3 separate regions of the Homo sapiens genome follow, and regions 1 and 3 are each linked to region 2. The links are contacts of gene promoters, found by promoter capture Hi-C in human tissues and cell types (Jung and others, 2019). All regions are on one chromosome and are shown on one strand. The core of a region is centred on a gene start or on the middle of the fragment in contact, and the rest is flanking DNA. Distances in the headings are between cores, read along the strand shown.

Region 1 (3,219 bases), core at 288-2,787, 1.0 Mb after region 2:
GCATGGGGGCAGGCCTTGAAGAAGATCCAGGAAGGACCCCGAGCGAAGGGATGGAACCCAGAAAGCACGGGGGTCGGGACAGGACAGGCCGACGACGGGGCCCACAGGGAAGGGGCGGGGCCGAGGGGACGCGGGCGGGGCCGGCTCACTCTTTTGGCAGGCGGGCGGCGCGGCGCTCCAAGACAGGTCCCACTGGCAAGTGAGAATGTCGGAGCCTAGCAGCTCGTAGCCAGGCTCGCACTGGTAGGTGAGCACCGTGCCCCGGATCAGGTCCCCGTGGGATGCCGTTCTCCAGCCCCACTCCGGAGGTGGCAGCTCGGGGCACGTGTCGTTCCTCGGGACCTCTGCAGGGGAGGGAAGGCGAGTTTGGAGGCTGCGTTTTAACTGCGGGCTCCCTTCCAGCCTCGGAGGCTTTGCTCTGTGCCCCCTCCCGGGATCTGTCTCTCTCTCTCTCTCTTAGAGACAGGGTTTCCTGTCGCCCAGGCTGGAGTACAGTGGTACAAGCATAGCTCACTGCAGCCTCAACCTCCTGGCTTCAAACGATCCTCCCGCCTCGGCCTCCCAAGGCCCCGGGATAACAGGCGTGAGCCACCACGACCGGCCACCTCCCGGGATCTCTGGCCTGCCCGACCCCTGCCCATCCCGGGACTCTATCCCTCAGTACCTTTGAAGTGCAATACGAAGCCCTGGCCCAGGCCTGGATTTGGGGGCCCGGGCGGTGCCTGAAACTGCAGTGTGAGGTCGGGCCCAGAGGAGAGAAGGCGGCGGCGCGGCTGAGGTCCCCGCAGCTGGGCCAAGACTCGGGCGCTGGGACCGTCCCCGTCGAACAGCGTCAGCATGTCCCCTTCCCGCACATTCAATCTGCAGGGGGTGAGACCAGGCAATGGGGCGGGGCTGCGACTGGCCCCTCCCATCCAGCTCTGCCCCATCCTCAACTCTGCTCATTGGTAGCCCCTCCTACTCTCCAGCCCCGCCCATATTCTCCTATCCCAGGTCTGGCGCCGCCTCCGTTTTGACCAACCATGGTTTCTCCTATGCTAGTGCCTCAGGGTTCCCCTATTCTATGGCTCCTCCCATGTCCTACTACCCAATCCCTAAGCTTGCACATTACTAACTCCGCCCACTGTCCACTCCCTCCTCCATCACCATGAGATCCACAGCCTAGCCCAACTCCAGCTCTGGCCAATCACAGACCAAATTCGCTAACGCCCTACACAACTCTAGGCCCCGCCTGAGTACCTGCTTTGAAGCCACGCCCACTTCAGCTTCTGTGCCATCTCATGACACTCTCATACCAATTCAGCTCACTGGATTCTCCCCAGACCTCCCCAACTTGCTGGTGTTAACGCAACAGTTTGGGTCTGTGTCCGTGGAAATAGCTCCAGGGGAAGCCTCAGAAACCTCCAAAGAGTGAGAGGCACCAGGCCAGAGCCCCTTGTTCACAGTGGCCCCTAAGGAAGGCTGCATTGCCCTATTTATTTGTCCGAGGTTGCCTGGCTAATATGTGATTTGAGCCCAGCTCTCTCACGTCTATCCTGTACCCTTAGTGCACCAGCCTATCCACCGAATTCTGGATAGATACGCAAGAGCCAGACAGGCTCAGAATGCAGGCTACTGCATTGGCATACCACACTTTGCTGAGCCTACACCCGTCGCACCCTCTGCAGGACCCAAACATACATCTCAACTTGGAGCAAGATGCGCTTCTCTTCCTGGACGTGCACGCCCCACACGCAGTCTTGGCCCGGGCTATAGCTCTGGGGCCAGTCGGGAGAGAGGACCACGCCAGCTGGTTCCGACAGCTCCCCTCCACACATGGCTAGGGAAAAAGGGGTGTCAGGTTCAGGACCCAGGTGGGCATGCTGTCTTCATTTCTCCACAGTCCTCACCACTCGTGATGCGTGCACCACATCACCTCGCTTGTTTCCTATTACCTATGATCCACCTGTTTCTTTTATTCTTTTATTTTATTTATTTATTTATTTTTAAATTTTTTTTGAGACGGAGTCTCTCTGTCGCCCAGGCTGGAGTGCAGTGGTGCGATCTTGGTTCACTGCAAGCTCTGCCTCCCTGGTTCACGCCATTCTCCTGCCTCAGCCTCCCGAGTAGCTGGGACTACAGGCGCCGCCACCACACCCTATTTTTTTTTCTTTTTTCTTTTTTTTTTTTTTTGTATTTTTAGTAGAGACGGGGTTTTACGGTGTTAGCCAGAATGGTCTCGATCTCCTGACCTCGTGATCTGCCCGCCTTGGCCTCCCAAAGTGCTGGGATTACAGGCGTGAGCCACCAGGTCCAGCCCCTATTTTTATTTTTTTAGACAGAGTCTCACTCTGTCGCCCAGGCTGGAGTGCAGTGGCGCAATCCCGGCTCACTGCAATCTCCACCTCGCAGACTCAAGCGATTCTCGTGCCTCAGCCTCCCAAGTAGCTGGGATTACAGGCACGCACTACCATGCCCGGCTAATTTTTGTATTTTTAGTAGAGACGGGGTTTCACTCTATTGACCAGGCTGGTCTCCAACTCCTGACCTCAGGTGATCCGCCTGCCTGAGCCTCCCAGAGTGTTGGGATTACAGGCGTGAGACACTGCTCCCGGCTTTATCCACCTGTTTCTTTTTTCTTTCTTTCTTTCTTTTTTGAGACGGAGTTTCACACTTCTTGCCCAGGCTGGAGTGCAGTGCTGCGATCTCGGCTCACCGCAACCTCCGCCTCCCGGGTTCAAGCGATTCTCCTGCCTCAGCCTCCTGAGTAGCTGGGATTACAGGCATGCATCACCATGCCCAGCTAATTTTGTATTTTAAGTAGAGACAGGGTTTCTCCATGTTGATCAGGCTGGTCTCGAACTCCCGACCTCAGGTGATCCGCCCGCCTCAGCCTCCCATAGTGCTGGTATTACAGGCGTGAGCCACCGTGCCCAGCCATGATCTACCTGTTTCTTGCCGCATCTAGGTCCTGTTGTGTTCAATATCCAGTCCTGCTCTTAACAAACCCTGCCCACTCTCCAGCCTGCCCAATCTGTGACTTAACCCAACAGCAGTTCTCGCTCTTGAAGACATTTGGGTTTGTGACCCCTGCATTCAGTAACAAGCCCAGCAGTTATTCAGCTAAGAAAACAGCCTCTGAAGGGACAGGGATTTACCCAAGGCTTGGGTGGATGAAGTCTGGATGTGCAGCCTTCCTTTCTGAACGGCCTTGCTGGGATCCCCAGTTCAGGGGGCAAC
Region 2 (3,022 bases), core at 3-2,502:
CTCTTCAGTTCACATCCATATAGCCAAGTGTAGCAGTTAGAAACTCAGGCCCACCTTTCTCTACCATCTCCTCACCACCCATTCTGCGTGGCCAAGACCACAAACCTGCCATCTCATACCCAAACACTGAATATCTTAATCTCCTCCCCACAAGCCTAACATTTATCCTGACAAGAGGCAGCTTCTGGCCCTGTCTCCAGTGTCCCAGCAACCCTCACCTTAACATAATCTGCATGACCCGGGCAGTCTGTGTGGGCGTAGTGGCGGGCGGCAGTGCTATACTCCACATGAGCCGCATTGATGGTGATACCCCGAGCTCGCTCCTCCGGGGCATTGTCAATCTCCTCGTACTTCTTGAACTTAGCCCCACCTCCCTCAGCTAGAACTAAAGGAGGAAAAGAACACACCTCTCAGCTAAAGTTCCAGTGCTAGAGGCAGAGCTTAGACCACGCCCCTGAACCCTCCCACCTAAATACATAACCTCCTCCAATCTCTAACTCTTCCAGCAGAGAGAACTGTGGGTCAGAAAGAAATGTTAGAGGGCCTTAAGGGTCTGCCCTGTGACTTCTTTAGGGTACAGCCTCTGCTTGCAGAGCATTCCCCACGACTTTGTGATCCCCAAGCCATTGGTGGATCACAAAGTTCTTCCTGTTCAGGAGAAATTTGTCTCTTGCATCTCCCAATCCACCTGTCGCACAAATTCGGGCTCTTGGGGCCACAGTAAACTCCTCCAGCAGACACTCTGCTGGCCTTGCCTCCCTGGCTCCAGGTCCCATCAGTAGATAGGGCGCTGCTGGACGCCCCAACCCCACTCACTCTTCGTGATGGCTGCAGTCAGCGTGGTCTTCCCGTGGTCCACATGGCCGATGGTACCCACATTCACATGTGGCTTGTCGCGCACGTAAGTCTTCTTGGCCTCCACGGCCAGGCCGCGGCACAAGAGAGGCAATGCCGGGGCTTTCAGCAGCCGCAACAGACCCTGCAGCAGGAAGGTCCGGCCGGCGGCGAGACCTGCCGGGACCGAAGCTTGGAGTCAGGCAGGGAAGGGGTCAGACCGAACCCAGCCACCTACCACTCCCCCAAAGTGTTCCTGGGCCGCCATCGCCCTCCCTGACCACTCACCGCTGAAGTGGGGCGTCGCGCGCAGCAGGGTGGCGGCCGCCATTGTGGTCATACTCGCGCCCCGGTAACCGGGGAGCCGGGACCAGGAGCCCGAGCGCACAGAAGAAGAAGGGCGCCTGCGGCTGGAAGGCACTTCCGGCGGAAGTTAGAGCTGGGAGGGCAAGTCCGGGCCCCTCTAGCCGCCAGTGTCTATGGCCGTCTCAGCCGACGTCGGGCGCGCGGCTGAAGACGTCATGGAGGGGGCTGGTGTCTCGAGGGCGGAGTATGATGGAGAGGTTTTCCACCACTCGCGCCTCTCGGGCTGAGGGGCAACGTAGTTCTCTCTGGCGGTCGCAGGGGGCACTGAGGAGCGTCCCCTAAATCACCGGCGCCGCGAAGGCTCATGGGCGTAGTAGTTCTCAGGTCGGCGGGCTGTGGAGGTGATCAGAGTGGGAGTCAGGCGGGCTAGGCCGGACCCGGAGGGAGGGGCTCGGGCTCCGGGAGGCAGCTGCGGCTCCGACTGCTCAGGAACCTCCTCCTGGGCCCGGCAGAGAGAGACCCCGAGTCCCCCGGAGTCCGACTCGCTACGCGGGTCTTGCGAGATATCTGGCCGCCTCTGCCGCAGCTGGAGGTAGGGGACCAGGTCCTGGACGCCTTTCGGGGATGGGGTGAAGTGTGACCTCCCTCTTCGCTGAGACTTTGTTTTCTAATCTGTAAAATGGGAATAGTAGTATCCACTTCATAGGGAGAGCCTGACATCTAGCCCTGAGAGGAGATGAACTGGGTAGGAGTCAGTGTTGGGCCCTGTGAGGTCAGGCAGCTTGCGGGGACCCTGTACTGCTAGACCTCACAGGGCCAGAGCCCACAAGACAGACAGCTTCGCTGCCCACCCCTGTAGTCCCTCAGCAGCCTAAGGAGCAGTTCCGTTGGGCATCGCCCCACCCATCTAATTTTGCAGATGAGGAGCCAAGGATGAGGAGCCAGCTAGGGGAGCCTTTAAGGGGAGCCTGAGTCTCCTTTAATCTGTCGGTGTCCCCAGCACCTAACAGGGTGGAGCATGCAGTGAATGTTGAATGAATGGGTGCAAGGGTAGTCAATGTCCCTTAACTTTCACATCCATCATCTCATGGCAGCTTCCACAGGGCACTCCAAAGTGTTAATTATGGCTGCTTAACCCTGGCTAATGTTTCGGAACTCATCAGATCCTGAGACTCAGTGGACAGTGTTTGTTTCAAATAGATTCCCTAATTCCTCCCCTGGAGGTTATGATTCCGTGGGGTCTATGCACAGACTGGGAAGCTATATAACAAACACTCTTCTAAAACTGAGAAGAGGCTGGGCACGGTGGCTATAGTGCCAGCCTATAGTCCCAGCAGTTTGGGAGGCTGAGGTGGGAGGACGGTTTGAAGCCAGGAGTTCAAGACCAGCCTGGGCAGATTAGGAGACCCTATCTCTACAAAAAAAAATTTAAAATTAGCCAGGCACAGTAGCATGCAGCTATAGCCCCTCCTACTCAGGAGGCCGAGGCAGGAGGATCGCCTGAGCTCAGGAGTTCAAGGCTGTGGTGAGGTATGATCATGACACTGCACCCCACCGTGAGTGACAGAGAAAGACCCCATCTTTTTTTTTTTTTTTTTTTTTTTTTTGGAGACAGAGTCTCACTCTGTCGCCCAGGCTGGAGTGCAATGGGGCGATCTCGGCTCACTGCAACCTCCACCTCCTGGGTTGAAGCAATTCTCCCACCTCAGCCTCCTGAGTAGCTGGGACTACAGGCATGTGCCACCACGCCTGGCTAATTTTAGTATTTTTAGTACAGATGGGGTTTCACCTCGTTGGCCAGACGGCTCTCGAACTCCAGACCTCAAGTGATCCGCCCATTGTGGCCTCCCAAAGTGCTGGGACTACAGGCGTGAGCTACCAC
Region 3 (3,036 bases), core at 286-2,785, 1.6 Mb after region 2:
TTCATAAAATGGGAAAATTAGATATCTGCTTTTTCAAGGGAAGTGGCTGTTTTTCAAAGGAAGTGGCATTTGTTTATTCCACTAAAAAAAAATCTATTTTTATATGAAATATCCCAATTTAATTTTTTTTTTCTTGAGACGGAGTTTCGCTCTTGTTGCCTAGGCTGGAGACCAATGGCATGATCTCGGCTCACTGCAACCACTGCCTCCCCAGTTCAAGCAATTCTCGTGCCTCAGCCTCTCGAGTAGCTGGGATTACAGGCATGCACCACCAAGCTTGGCTAATTTTTGTATTTTTAGTAGAGACGGGGTTTCACCATGTTGGTTAGGCTGGTCTCGAAATCCTGACCTCAAGTGATCCACCGGCCTCCGCCTCCCAAAGTGCTGGGATTACAGGCATGAGCCACCGCGCCCGGCTTTGAAACGATTTTTTTTTTTTTTTTTTTTTTTTTTTTTTGAGACGGAGTCTCGCTCTGTCGCCCAGGCTGGAGCGCAGTGGCGCGATCTCGGCTAACTGCAAGCTCGCCTCCCGGGTTCACGCCATTCTCCTGTCTCAGCCTCCCGAGTAGCTGGCACTACAGGTGCCCGCCACCACGCCCAGCTAATTTTTTGTATTTTGTTTAGTAGAGTCGGGGTTTCACCGTGTTAGCCAGGATGGTCTCTATCTCCTGACCTCGTGATCCGCCCGCCTCGGCCTCCTAAAGTGCTGGGATTACAGGCGTGAGCCGCCGTGCCCGTCCGAAAAGATTTTTTAAAAGTAAAAATACCCTAAGGGCCAAACAAGGTACCCCTGTGGACTGGATTTAGCTTTGGGCTGTTGTTCACCTAGGCTACTGATTGTCAGGGATGCTATGACATCCTTATCGTGTAACTTAGGCAAATCAGTTTACCTCCCTGAACTTCAGTGAGCTCATCTGTAAAATGGATCAGGACCCATCGTTATGCGGATCAAATGAGACCAGGTATGTAAGACGCTGAACAGCGCTGGCGCATGGTAAGCACCCCACGCATGACGCGACAGCGGTAGCTTGGGTGGATGTTGAATTGGTTAGGATGTATTCAAGGATATCCCAGAGGCCAGCGGAATAGGCGAAGCCGAGAAAGATGGAGAAAAGACGGCAGAGGAGATAAAGAGGGAATGGAAGAAGTGAGGAGGCAACAGGGTCCGCCCTCCAGGCGGGGCGCCAGGGAGAGGCCCAGGCCGGGGCGGGAGCGCACGTGGCCTATTTCGGGCGGAGCAGAGGCACTGGGCGCAGCGGAGACCTCCAAGCCGGCCCCAGGAGACGGGCCGCGAGGTTAGGTTGGAACTCGGCGGCAAGGACCTTGAACGCCGGGCTGGGGCGGCTCCAGGTGCTTGGGAGTCGGGGGACTGCGGAGGACGCCAAGTCTGAGCTCGCCGCCCTCTCCGAGCCGTTTGGGCCGGACGCCTGGGTCCTTCGGGCTCCGCCCCAGGGGGTGGGGCTATATGTTCGGACCAATGACCGGCCGTCCCTGCGGTCCCGCCCCCTCCCCGCCCCCGGAGCCGCGGCCTCGCTGAGTGCCCAGCCGCCCGGCGCCCAGGCCTGGGGCACCGCGAGTGCCGAACCTTCGGCTGGTGAGTGCGCACCCCCTCCCCGGGGTTTCCGCCCCGATCCCGCCTCCAGCCCGTGCCCCAGAGCTCCAGGTCGCCGACCCGGGCCCTGGGGAGTGACTCAGCGCAAGGATGGTGGCGACTTGCGGGGGCTGGAGATTCGAACTGTTCAAGGCCTTGAATGCTGGGATGAGTGGGGTGAACGCGAGCCCTCGGAGCTGGTCCCGGGGCTGTGCCAGAGCGTGGGGCCGGGCTGGGGTGGACGGGAGAGGACCAGATTCGGAGACCAGGGCAGGGCGGGAGAAGCCACGGCTGCACTGCCTTGCTGGGCCAGGGCCACGGTGGGCGGGGGGGGGGGTGGGGGGGGGCGGGTCCTGAGCTTCTGATCCAGCTCCCCGCCTCAGGACACCAAGATGCCTGGCGAACAGCAGGCAGAGGAAGAGGAGGAGGAAGAGATGCAGGAGGAGATGGTGCTGCTGGTGAAGGGTGAGGAGGATGAGGGTGAGGAGAAGTATGAGGTGGTGAAACTCAAGATCCCCATGGACAACAAGGAGGTATGTGTCACACACACCCTGGGGCACACTGTCCCCAAACCTGGTCCAGGCCCAGCCTCCCTCAGATAGAAGCCAGGGATCTTGCCCCTACTTTTCCCAGAATCTCGGATCTAAAACCTCAGGATTGGCCCATCCTTCTGCCCTACTGCCTGGGCTTCCATCATACAAAAGTCACGCCTACTGTCCCAGGCTTCCTGCTGGGTGCAGGAGATTAAACTCCGTCCTTGGATCCCCCATGGAGCTTGATGTTAGACTGAAGGGTAACCACACAGTTAGAATCCCGTGTGATGGCTGCAGGTACAGGGGGATGATGAAGCCTAGAAGTGGGAACTTAACTCAGATTTAGAGGTTGGGGAAAGGTCAGGTTAGTTCAACAGCAACAGTAACAATAGCTAACCCTTGCCTAGCATTTTCTATGTGCCAGGCACTGTTCTAAGCACCTCGATTCTATGATGTCGGTAGCATTTATTCCATTTTACAGATGAGGAGACTGAGGCCCAGGGCAGTTTGGTAACTGGCCACAGGTCTCAAAGTAAAAGGATGGCTTATGTGAGACTAGTAGGAGTCTGGGGTCAGAAGTGGGGTGATGGACCCAGTCAGAGGAAATGGCTCTTTTATTATTACTGTTGTTATTGTTTGAGACAGGGTCTCATTCAGTCACCCAAGCTGTAGTGCAGTACAGCTCACTGCAGCCTTGACTTCCCTGGGCTCAGGTGATCCTCCCACCTCAGCCTCCCAAGTAGCTGGGACTACAGGCATGCACCACTACACCTGGCTAATTTTTTTTTGTTTTGTTTTGAGACAGAGTTTCGCTCTGTTGCCCAGGCTGGAGTGCAGTGGCGTGATCTCGGCTCACTGCAGCCTCCACCTCCCGGGTTCAAGTGGTTCTCCTACCTCAGCCTCCCAAGAAGC

The links. Contacts are between HindIII fragments. The study calls those that stand out against the background at their distance.
Region 1: a contact is called between a fragment that was not itself captured here and the fragment with the promoter of TUFM in region 2, in 1 of the 25 tissues and cell types used here (lymphoblastoid cells).
Region 3: a contact is called between the fragment with the promoter of ZNF771 here and the fragment with the promoter of TUFM in region 2, in 1 of the 25 tissues and cell types used here (aorta).

What each region holds. Positions count from the first base shown.
Region 1 is chr16:29,876,607-29,879,825 of GRCh38, forward strand. SEZ6L2 (seizure related 6 homolog like 2) reads right to left here. Exons shown (of 18, transcript NM_001243332.2): 10 at 1,681-1,819; 11 at 665-861; 12 at 150-344. Among named protein-coding and RNA genes, the nearest start is that of CDIPT, 15 kb to the left of the region's middle. RefSeq lists enhancers at 1,080-1,581, 1,582-2,081. The HindIII fragment of the contact is 6,800 bases long and covers 1-3,219 here.
Region 2 is chr16:28,845,096-28,848,117 of GRCh38, forward strand. TUFM (Tu translation elongation factor, mitochondrial) reads right to left here and starts at 1,253. Exons shown (of 10, transcript NM_003321.5): 1 at 1,123-1,253; 2 at 817-1,011; 3 at 219-385. The coding sequence starts at 1,174. It also overlaps a transcript of SH2B1 not described here. RefSeq lists an enhancer at 1,115-1,604. The HindIII fragment of the contact is 27,203 bases long and covers 1-3,022 here.
Region 3 is chr16:30,406,071-30,409,106 of GRCh38, forward strand. ZNF771 (zinc finger protein 771) reads left to right here and starts at 1,536. Exons shown (of 3, transcript NM_001142305.2): 1 at 1,536-1,594; 2 at 1,975-2,124. The coding sequence starts at 1,984. RefSeq lists silencers at 1,260-1,439, 1,462-1,671. The HindIII fragment of the contact is 10,608 bases long and covers 70-3,036 here.